Regions from separate parts of the Homo sapiens genome. Here region 2 is linked to region 1. Evidence: promoter capture Hi-C in human tissues and cell types (Jung and others, 2019). All regions are on one chromosome and are shown on one strand. The core of a region is centred on a gene start or on the middle of the fragment in contact, and the rest is flanking DNA. Distances in the headings are between cores, read along the strand shown. Region 1 holds the start of DCLK2 (doublecortin like kinase 2). Region 2 overlaps LRBA (LPS responsive beige-like anchor protein).

The links. The method cuts DNA at HindIII sites, captures the fragments that hold promoters and counts their contacts. A contact is called where the count stands out against the background at its distance.
Region 2: a contact is called between a fragment that was not itself captured here and the fragment with the promoter of DCLK2 in region 1, in 2 of the 25 tissues and cell types used here (IMR-90 fibroblasts and hippocampus).

What each region holds. Positions count from the first base shown.
Region 1 is chr4:150,076,399-150,080,835 of GRCh38, forward strand. DCLK2 (doublecortin like kinase 2) reads left to right here and starts at 2,047. Exons shown (of 16, transcript NM_001040260.4): 1 at 2,047-3,050. The coding sequence starts at 2,630. The HindIII fragment of the contact is 8,036 bases long and covers 524-4,437 here.
Region 2 is chr4:150,284,405-150,288,841 of GRCh38, forward strand. It overlaps LRBA (LPS responsive beige-like anchor protein), which reads right to left. Exons shown (of 57, transcript NM_001364905.1): 54 at 1,529-1,630. Among named protein-coding and RNA genes, the nearest start is that of DCLK2, 210 kb to the left of the region's middle. RefSeq lists an enhancer at 3,743-4,243. The HindIII fragment of the contact is 4,591 bases long and covers 302-4,437 here.

The DNA of each region.
Region 1 (4,437 bases), core at 797-3,296:
ATGGTGACACTTAAGCAACTCTATGGAAAGGTACTCATGACAAGGAACTGAGGCCTCCTTACCATTCATGTGAATGGGCTGTCTTGGAAATGGATCTTCTTGACCCAGTCAAGCCTTTAGATGGCTGTGACCCCTGTCAACATCTTGACAGCAATCACATGAGGCTTTGAGGTAAACTGCTCCCAGATTTCCGATCTGCCAAAAATGCTGAGATTATGCATGTTTATTGTTGTAAATCATTAAGTTTAGGATAATTTGTTTCTACAGCAATAGTTTACAAAGTCTTTTTCCCCCTAAGAAATACTAACAGTGATACAAATGAACATGGCCATCTTAAGGCAAGTTGATGGGCTCTGTGGAGTTACTGGTACTTAGATGGAAACTTATCTCAATAAATTTGCAATTTAGTTTCTTGTTTCTCAAAGTCTTGTACCAAGACCAGCAGCATTGGCATTACCCAGGGGCTCATCAGAAATGCAGAATCTCAAACTCCACCCCAGAGCTACAGAATAGCAATCTGCATTTTAACGAGATTCCCCTATGACATGTAAATATATTAAAGTTTGAGAAGAAGCACTGATTTATTTGATTCCTGGTGTTACAGCCTGTGGTTGGAAACTCTGGATATACCTTAGGGGTACTTTTAAAAAAATACTGTTGGAGAAGCCCGTCTCCAGAAATTCTGATTTAACTGATCTAGGTTGAGGCCTTTTAAGGTGGTGGACCTAATGATGCTGCAGGATTTTCCTCTAGAAAAACTACATTGAAGCCTCAGATCAGCTCTGACTTCCTAGCATGCCCCAACCCCGCAGGAAGTTAGGTATGCCCAGGTGTATGCCCAGAACTGCCTTAGGAGTAGTATTGTGCACCGAGCAGGAGACCTTTCTGGAGCTGCCATGAAGGGTGTGTATGCGTGTGTGTGCGTGTGTTTGGTGGGGCGCACCAACTTCACAGATGCTAGACCGTTGCATGTGCTTCTACCTTCTTTTATTCATGCTCTTCCAGGACTCAGTTCAACCCGAAAAAAAGCAACTATGCCTTTCTTCCTGAAAGGTCAGTTTGGATTGCTGTCTAGGGCTGCTCAGAAAACCAGGTGTTGAATGTTCTAAGGTTTCACGTGCCAAATTGGGATCAAACATATTTGAGCTTTATTTTTCCTAATAACAAAATGCAAGTAACTAGTATTTCTCTTAAGTCTTGGAAAAGATGTTTTTATTGTTGAATAGACACTACGGCATTAAGATTTCCACTATGATGGGTGCTCACAAATGATAGGCCTCTTAGGTAAGAAGCTTTAATTGACAACATTAAATATGCGGGGCGGGGGGAGTGGGTGCAGAGTCTCTCTTTCCTTTGTTAGGGCATCCCAGTGACAGAAACAATGCCTGACACATGGTACGCTCTCGATAAATATTCGTTGATTACATAACCCCCTCTACCACCCAATAACTTCTCATCATTCATTCAAAGTTACTGAACGTACCATATTAGCGAATCTGCAATGGAAACAGTGGAGGCTGTTTTCTCAAAGGATTTTCTAATAAAGCAACAAATCTTTTTTAAAAAAAATGAATGGTGTGCCCCAAGTCAATGCTGGGCTTCGGATTTCTGCGGTAGTTTGGCCTGGGGTCCTCACTGGGATGCTGGCTGGGGATGTGCTCCCTGCCCTTGAATCTCCTTCCTTTGTAGTTTTTGGCCTGCGCGGTTACGTTTCCCAGGCGGAGGAGCGCGCGTCGCGGCTGCGCCCATTAACGCGCGGCGCCGGGCAGGAGCCGTCAGGCGGGCGGGGCTGCCCGGGACCCGCAGGAGCTGCTCCTCCCGCGCCGGCGCTCGGCCCCCTCCTCCGCCCCCTCCTCCGCCCCCTCCTCCCCTTCTCCGCGGTTTGGCATCCCCGGGGCCGGGAAGCCTCCTCCAGCGCTGACAGCCTGTCGGCGGCGGAGGGAGGCCAGAGCGCGGATGCTTGCCAGTGGGCCGGGCCTGACCGCTGCGTGGGAGGCGGGCTGCATTATTTCCCGCTAGGGCCGCGCTCCAGGGAAGGAAGGGGCCAGACACGGCCCTCTCAGCCCCGAACGGCGCGCGCTGCCCGGCGGGCGGGATCCGGGCGCGGCCGAGGCGGCGGCGCTGCACCCCGGGCCTGGGCCCGCGCGACTCCCCCGGGGGCCTCTCCCACGCTCCGCGCCCCGCCCCACCCTTCCTTCCTTCCTCCCCTCGGCGCTCCCGGGAGCGCTCGGCAGACGCCCGAGCTTTGTGGGCGCCCGCGGGCCCAGCGCGAGCCTCGGGCGGCCCAACTTTGCCTCTCCCGGTCGGCTCCCGAGCGGGACTTGTGAGGCGTGGCCGGGTGGAGGAGGCGCTTGCGGGGGCGTGGGGCTCCCCGGCAGGCGGGAGGCACGGAGCAAGTCGCACTGGACAATGACCTGGGCAGCTCGGCGCTGCGGACACTTTTAGCTGAGGGCGCGGGCGGGTCGGCTCCTCCGCGGCTCCTCGGCCCCACCTGCGCGGAGAGGGCGGGATGCCAGAGCCAGGTGTCCCGGCGCGTTAAGGGCCCTCGCAGTCAGACGTCCCTGCACCGGCGCTCGCACCCTTAGTCGGCCCGGAACGTCTTTTTGCGGACGCCCTCGGAGCAGCCGCGATGGCCAGCACCAGGAGTATCGAGCTGGAGCACTTTGAGGAACGGGACAAAAGGCCGCGGCCGGGGTCGCGGAGAGGGGCCCCCAGCTCCTCCGGGGGCAGCAGCAGCTCGGGCCCCAAGGGGAACGGGCTCATCCCCAGTCCGGCGCACAGTGCCCACTGCAGCTTCTACCGCACGCGGACCCTGCAGGCCCTCAGCTCGGAGAAGAAGGCCAAGAAGGCGCGCTTCTACCGGAACGGGGACCGCTACTTCAAGGGCCTGGTGTTTGCCATCTCCAGCGACCGCTTCCGGTCCTTCGATGCGCTCCTCATAGAGCTCACCCGCTCCCTGTCGGACAACGTGAACCTGCCCCAGGGTGTCCGCACTATCTACACCATCGACGGCAGCCGGAAGGTCACCAGCCTGGACGAGCTGCTGGAAGGTAGGAGGGGAGGGCGCCGCACGGCAGGTGCGGCGGAGCGCCGGCAGGTGCAGTGGGCGTGAGCCGGCGCAGCGGGGAGCCCGCGGGGTGCTTTCCAAGCCGCACGGGAATTGATGCTTCTGTCTGCTTCTCTAGAGATTGGCTGGGGGTGGGGGCCGGTGGGGTGCCCACATACACACTGACTTTCCTTCCCAAGAGGTTTGTCTCTTAAAGAAGGAAAAAATTTCCTGATGGTCAGGCCAATTTAGGCACTGGTGGCATCTCCTAAGATTGTTGAACTTATTTGTATTGAAGTGCAAACTGTTTGAGAAAATGGTTCTCCCATGGGGAGCTGGGTAATCCCCTACTAATAAGCTCTGTTGGACCCTCGGTGTGGACCCTGGTGCAGGCTCCTGTCATGTTCCAGTATTCGGGGTCCTGTTGTGACTGCTGTCAGAAGCTGTGGTTGTGAAATGCTCTAGGTTGGCTTTCCTAGTTTGCCTTGCAGCAGAAGTTACTTGAGGTGAAGAGGGATGATCCTAGACAGCAGGTCTCAACCTTGGCTTCATCTTGGATCACACTGGGGACTTCGAAAAATATGGGACCCTGATCCCCCAACCCCCAGATATCCTGATTAAATTGGTTGGGTTTGGGGTGTGGGTTAGGCGTCTGGAGTCTCAAAAGCCCCCCCCCCAGGTGATTCTAATGTGGGACCCTGGTTAACAATCACCGTGCTAAAGGGTTTTCCACATTTGGTTGGAAAAAAGGTAAATCAAGGTCAATCTCTCCAGCCTTATCCTCTAATAAGAGTACCTAATTAGAATGATAGAGGCCATTGGATTCAGCAGTGGGGACTTATTAAAAATTAGTAATTCTGCTGTGTCAACCATGCCTCGGTCAAAGAGACTGCTTGGCTGGATGTTGGGTCATCCTTGAATTCCTGCAATACGTATGCCTCATCCTTTTCAGGTAGAAAAGGCATTATCAGTGGTTAAGAACCTGTTTCCAGTTCTAAATAACATCCAGAAAGACCAGGCAGAACCCAGGTATGTGCTGACTGCGTGTTTACATACAGTCCGCTCTTGTGCATCTTTCTTAATGCAAATGGCACATTCCATGTAGTCATAGCAATAGCTTGGCAGGGAGAGGAAGCTGAACATCAAGCCAGATGTTTTTCTTATATTATCTCAGCATGCTTTTCTGTCCTGAAGGCATTATCCCCATTTTATAGATGAGGAAACTTAGGCAGCATGCCTTGCCTCACAGTGCCTGCAGCATATACTTTCTCGTCTACGATTCACCTCTGCTGAGCTAATGGAGCCACATGGAGGAAAACTAAAGGTCGTTGAGTTTGTCTATTTAGTCAGAAGTTTTTGCTGCCCTGCCTAGAACGCGACCCAGCCAAAAT
Region 2 (4,437 bases), core at 1,347-3,846, 210 kb after region 1:
TTGATATGTTTTTCACAAATAAAATAATTATCAATGTATCAAATGTTTTAAATTACAGTGTATTAAGTACATGTGAGTTTTACTACTTTTTTCATGTTATATGTATAACTGAGTATGAGTTTTTAATGTTTTGACAAAATTATTCTTAGAGACAGGGTTTTGCTGTGTCACCCAGGCTGGAGTGCAGTGGCATGATCATGGCTTACTACAGCCTTCACCTCCTGCAATCCTCCCATCTCACCTTCCCAAGCAGCTGGGACTACAGGTGTGCACCCCATGCCCAGCTAATTCTTAATTTTTTTGTAGAGATGGGGGTCTCACTATGTTGCCAGACTGGTCTTGAACTCCTGGCCTCAAATGATCTTCCCACCTTAGCCTCCCAAAATGTTGGGATTACAGGCATGAGCCACCATGCCCAGCCTGACAAAAATTTTTAAAGACCATGGAACAATTGTAAAATTTACCAATGATTATTCAGATCACTTTGTATGGTTTCAGTTGGCGTGCTCACTTTTACAGTTCCATACTACTGTGCAAAGAAAAGATGACCTGTAATATATAATAGGTTCATTTTACGACTCCTGTTGGCTCAGGACGTATGAAATTATTGAGTATAAGGGAAAAATCCAGTGGTTATAGAATTATTGCTATCATTATTACTATTTCAATGTTTTGACCAAATTTATAAACATAATCCTTTAAATATTTAAAACACCTTATTAACTAGACTAATAAGTATTACATTTTAGGACACAGAGGAGCTGATCCAAATACTCTGTTTCCCCACCAGATAAACCCAAAAGATGTGAGATATAATACTTTGTTGTGTGTTCAGACTTCAGCTCAGAGCAGAGACAGAGAGATGGATAGACTATTATGATGGGATAAGTAAGCAACGAATTGGAAACAGCTCCATTCCTAGTCAGATCCTGATTTGTTGCATGTGCTCTAAGCTCGCTTAATATCTTGGGCCTAAATATATAATGCTGTTTCCAGCACAAACCTCCAGGCAAACCAGCTTAAGTATCTTTCTACTCCACTCTCAATGCCACTGTGGCCCCTGCCTCATTAAAACAGACAGGGTCAGGGGCTTCCATTCAGATATAAGACGGAACCTGGCCCAGTAATAGCTCAGAAGAATAAACAAATATACAAAGACGTTCCTTGTTCCTGCTTCAGGGGAATATGAATATTAACAGGATATGTTTGTAAAAACATCTTAAACTCCTTAGAGCAGTGCTGTGAAACAGAACTTTCTACAATGATGGAAATGATCTGTATCTGTGCTGTCCAATGTAGTGGCCACTAGCCATATGTGAGTACTGAGGACCTGCAATGTGGCTAGTGCCACGAAGAAACTTACATTTTAATTTTATTTAATTTTAAATAATTTAAATAGTTCCATATGACTAATGGCTATCATAACAGACAGAAGCTTTAGAAAAAAGGTACCAAATTAATCTTTGGTAATTTGTTTCTAGAAGACAGCAAGAAATGCATCCATTTTGTGAAGGTACCACAGGTTTACCTTGTGAACCACTCAACACCAGGCCTAGCTCCGCACACACCGCAGCACATGTGACCTCATAGTCATGGCCGGTCAAAATGGCCCGAGGAGCAGCAGTCTCACCTTTAGGAAAAAACAGATAAAAAGAACAAATCAATTCAATTTCATGCATATTAAATAATCAACAACTTGCTCCTAATTTCCATCATGCCTATTTAATTTATAGTTTGGGAATTTGTCCAGCAATCCTACTTTAGGACTAGATCCAAGTTACATACTATAGTTTGATTATGAGGGCCACATCCTGCTAAAATGTCAAGTAACCTTTATGTGATTATCAAGCAACAATGGTTGAAAACTCAGGGTTAAATACAACAAAATCTGCATTCCAAAATGCCTCATAAAAAATCAGCCCCTCAATTAGATGTTTTATGGTCAGATGATTATAAAATTAGGAACTTTGGCTCAATTTACATTTCAAAGAAAGGCCTCGCCCCTCCTTCCTCCTTCCTCATCCTTTGTGGGCCGCTGAAACCCATCATAATGAAGACAGTCTGAACTAGACTTCTGCTACCCCCACAGTAATTCTGCAGCCCCTCTCTTAAATATGTATTCTCTCTACTAAGCTTATGTATTTTTCTGATATATAAATTTCATGGATATATTTCTCTGTGGTTCATTCAAATAACCGAAAAAAAACCCAATATAAGAAACACCTAAAAAAAAACCAAACCCTTACAGATAAGTCTACAGATAGTGATTGAAAATGAGGGGCGGTGGGTAGAGAAGGGGGGACAGAGGAGGAGTATCCAAAAACTGGCAGATATTGCCGAATACTTTCACAACTTGAAAGAACAAGTCATCCTGTATGTCTGTCCCAAACTAAAAAGAAAACGTATGGTTGGTTGGTTGGTTGGTTAATAAGGAACCCATCATGACTAAGTAAAATGGTAATGGTCTTGATTTGTGGATGGGTTCGTGCCAAGCCACAAGGATAAACTGGATTCCATGTCTAGCCTGAAGAATATGATTTGAAGACTAAACGGATCCTTTACTTTTATAGTCTCTAAAGGTAAAGATACAAAAAGTCTTTCCAAGTGGAGAGCAGGATTCTATTAGCATTCCCGATTTCTTGATTTGGATTGGTTTTATAGTATGCTTGATAACTAACACTGTGTAATCCAGAAGAGACAAATGTGCCCACAGAGTAAGTGGCTACCACCAGCTATGGAACTCTGTGGAAGAGAATCGCTTGTATCTTAACCCCAGACACCTGACTATCCTTGGAGCAGTCACCCACTCAGAGGAAGGAAGTCCAGCAGCTCAGGGGAAACCCACTGGAAACCTACTGTACTTGGAAAGGCAAATGCTGCTGTCAGAAAACTAACCCGGCTTCCAAAGCAAGGGTTCTTCCAGTAGGTCACTGGGTTATTTGAAATTTTATGCAAAATGTATCTACATGCCTGTTTTTCTAGGTAGCAGGGGAGGAAAATAAGTTTTACTGAATGGACAGAGGTCCATGAACAAGAAAAGGTGAGAGGCTTCTACCCTGAAGGGAGGTCTGGTCTCTGTGCTTGTAGCCCCACTTCACCTGGAGCCAGCAGTCACTTCAGGTCTAGCTTTTCACAGGACAGTTCCAATGCATGTACCAGAGTACATAATGCACGGCCATGTCCCTACAATGTCCTTCAAGGCTTTGGTGACTGTAGGTAATCCTGAGTGAGACTTAAGTTGAAGGAATGCCACACGGAACTTTGCACCACACTGGCGTGCTATGTGCAGCCAGCTGCTGGACCTAGCCTACAGGCTTAGTGATAAAGGGAGACCAAAAATAACATACAAAGAGGCAAGGGGGTAGGCAGAACAAGGGGCTTCGTTTCATTTGATTCCAAGTTTTAACACTTCTTTGGGAGGCAAACTTACCTTAATTAGAAAGTTGACATTTCCCAAGCCACAAAGAATTTGTCACAAGAGCAATTTTGTTTCTTACAAAGTCCAGAAATTTGGGAAAATTTTAAAGAAATAAAGCAAATAATGTAAGCCAATCTGAACTACTTAAGCTTCTGTTAGGATCCACAAATTTTTTTTTTTTTTTTCTGAGACGGAGTCTCACTCTGTCGCCCAGGCTGGAATGCGGTGGTGCGATCTCGACTCACTGCCAGCTCCGCCTTCCAGGTTCACACCATTCTCCTGCCTTGGCCTCCTGAGTAGCTGGGACTACAGGCGCCCGCCACTGCGCCCAGCTAATTTTTTGTATTTTTAGTAGAGACGGGGTTTCACCGTGGTCTCGATCTCCTGACCTCGTGATCCGCCTGCCTCGGCCTCCCAAAGTGCTGGGATTACAGGCGTGAGCCACCGCGCCCAGCCAGGATCCACAAATTTTAGGAAGAAGTATACTGTTTTAAAAAGTTATTGGCCGGGCGCAATGGCTCACGCCTGTAATCCCAGTACTTTGGGAGGCCAAGGTGGGCAGATCACCTGAGGTTACGAGTTAGAGACCAGCCTGGCCAACATGGTGAAACCCTGCCTCTACTAAAAATACAAAAAATTAGTTTGGCGTGGTGGTGTGCACCTCTAACAGGTAGGAGAATTGCTTGAACCTGGGAGGTGGAGGTTGCAGTGAGCCGAGATCACGCCACTGCACTCTAGCCTGGGCAACAGAGCGAGACTCCGTCTCAAAAAAATAATAAAATAAGAAGTTATCAATACTTTAGCCCTGATTCTTGGTTTTCCTTTTCCCCAGAAGGCTGTACATTCCACAAAAATACCATACAATGTTGTTTCTGAAATTACTGTCTAATTAGATCCATTGGCAACTTTTTTTTTTTACCAGCAATTAAAATCACTAAGATCTAAGGAATATATTTTTGGTGTGATTGTTCTTTTTTTTTTTTTTTTTTCTTAAGTTACCATTTCATGGATGGTGAAAT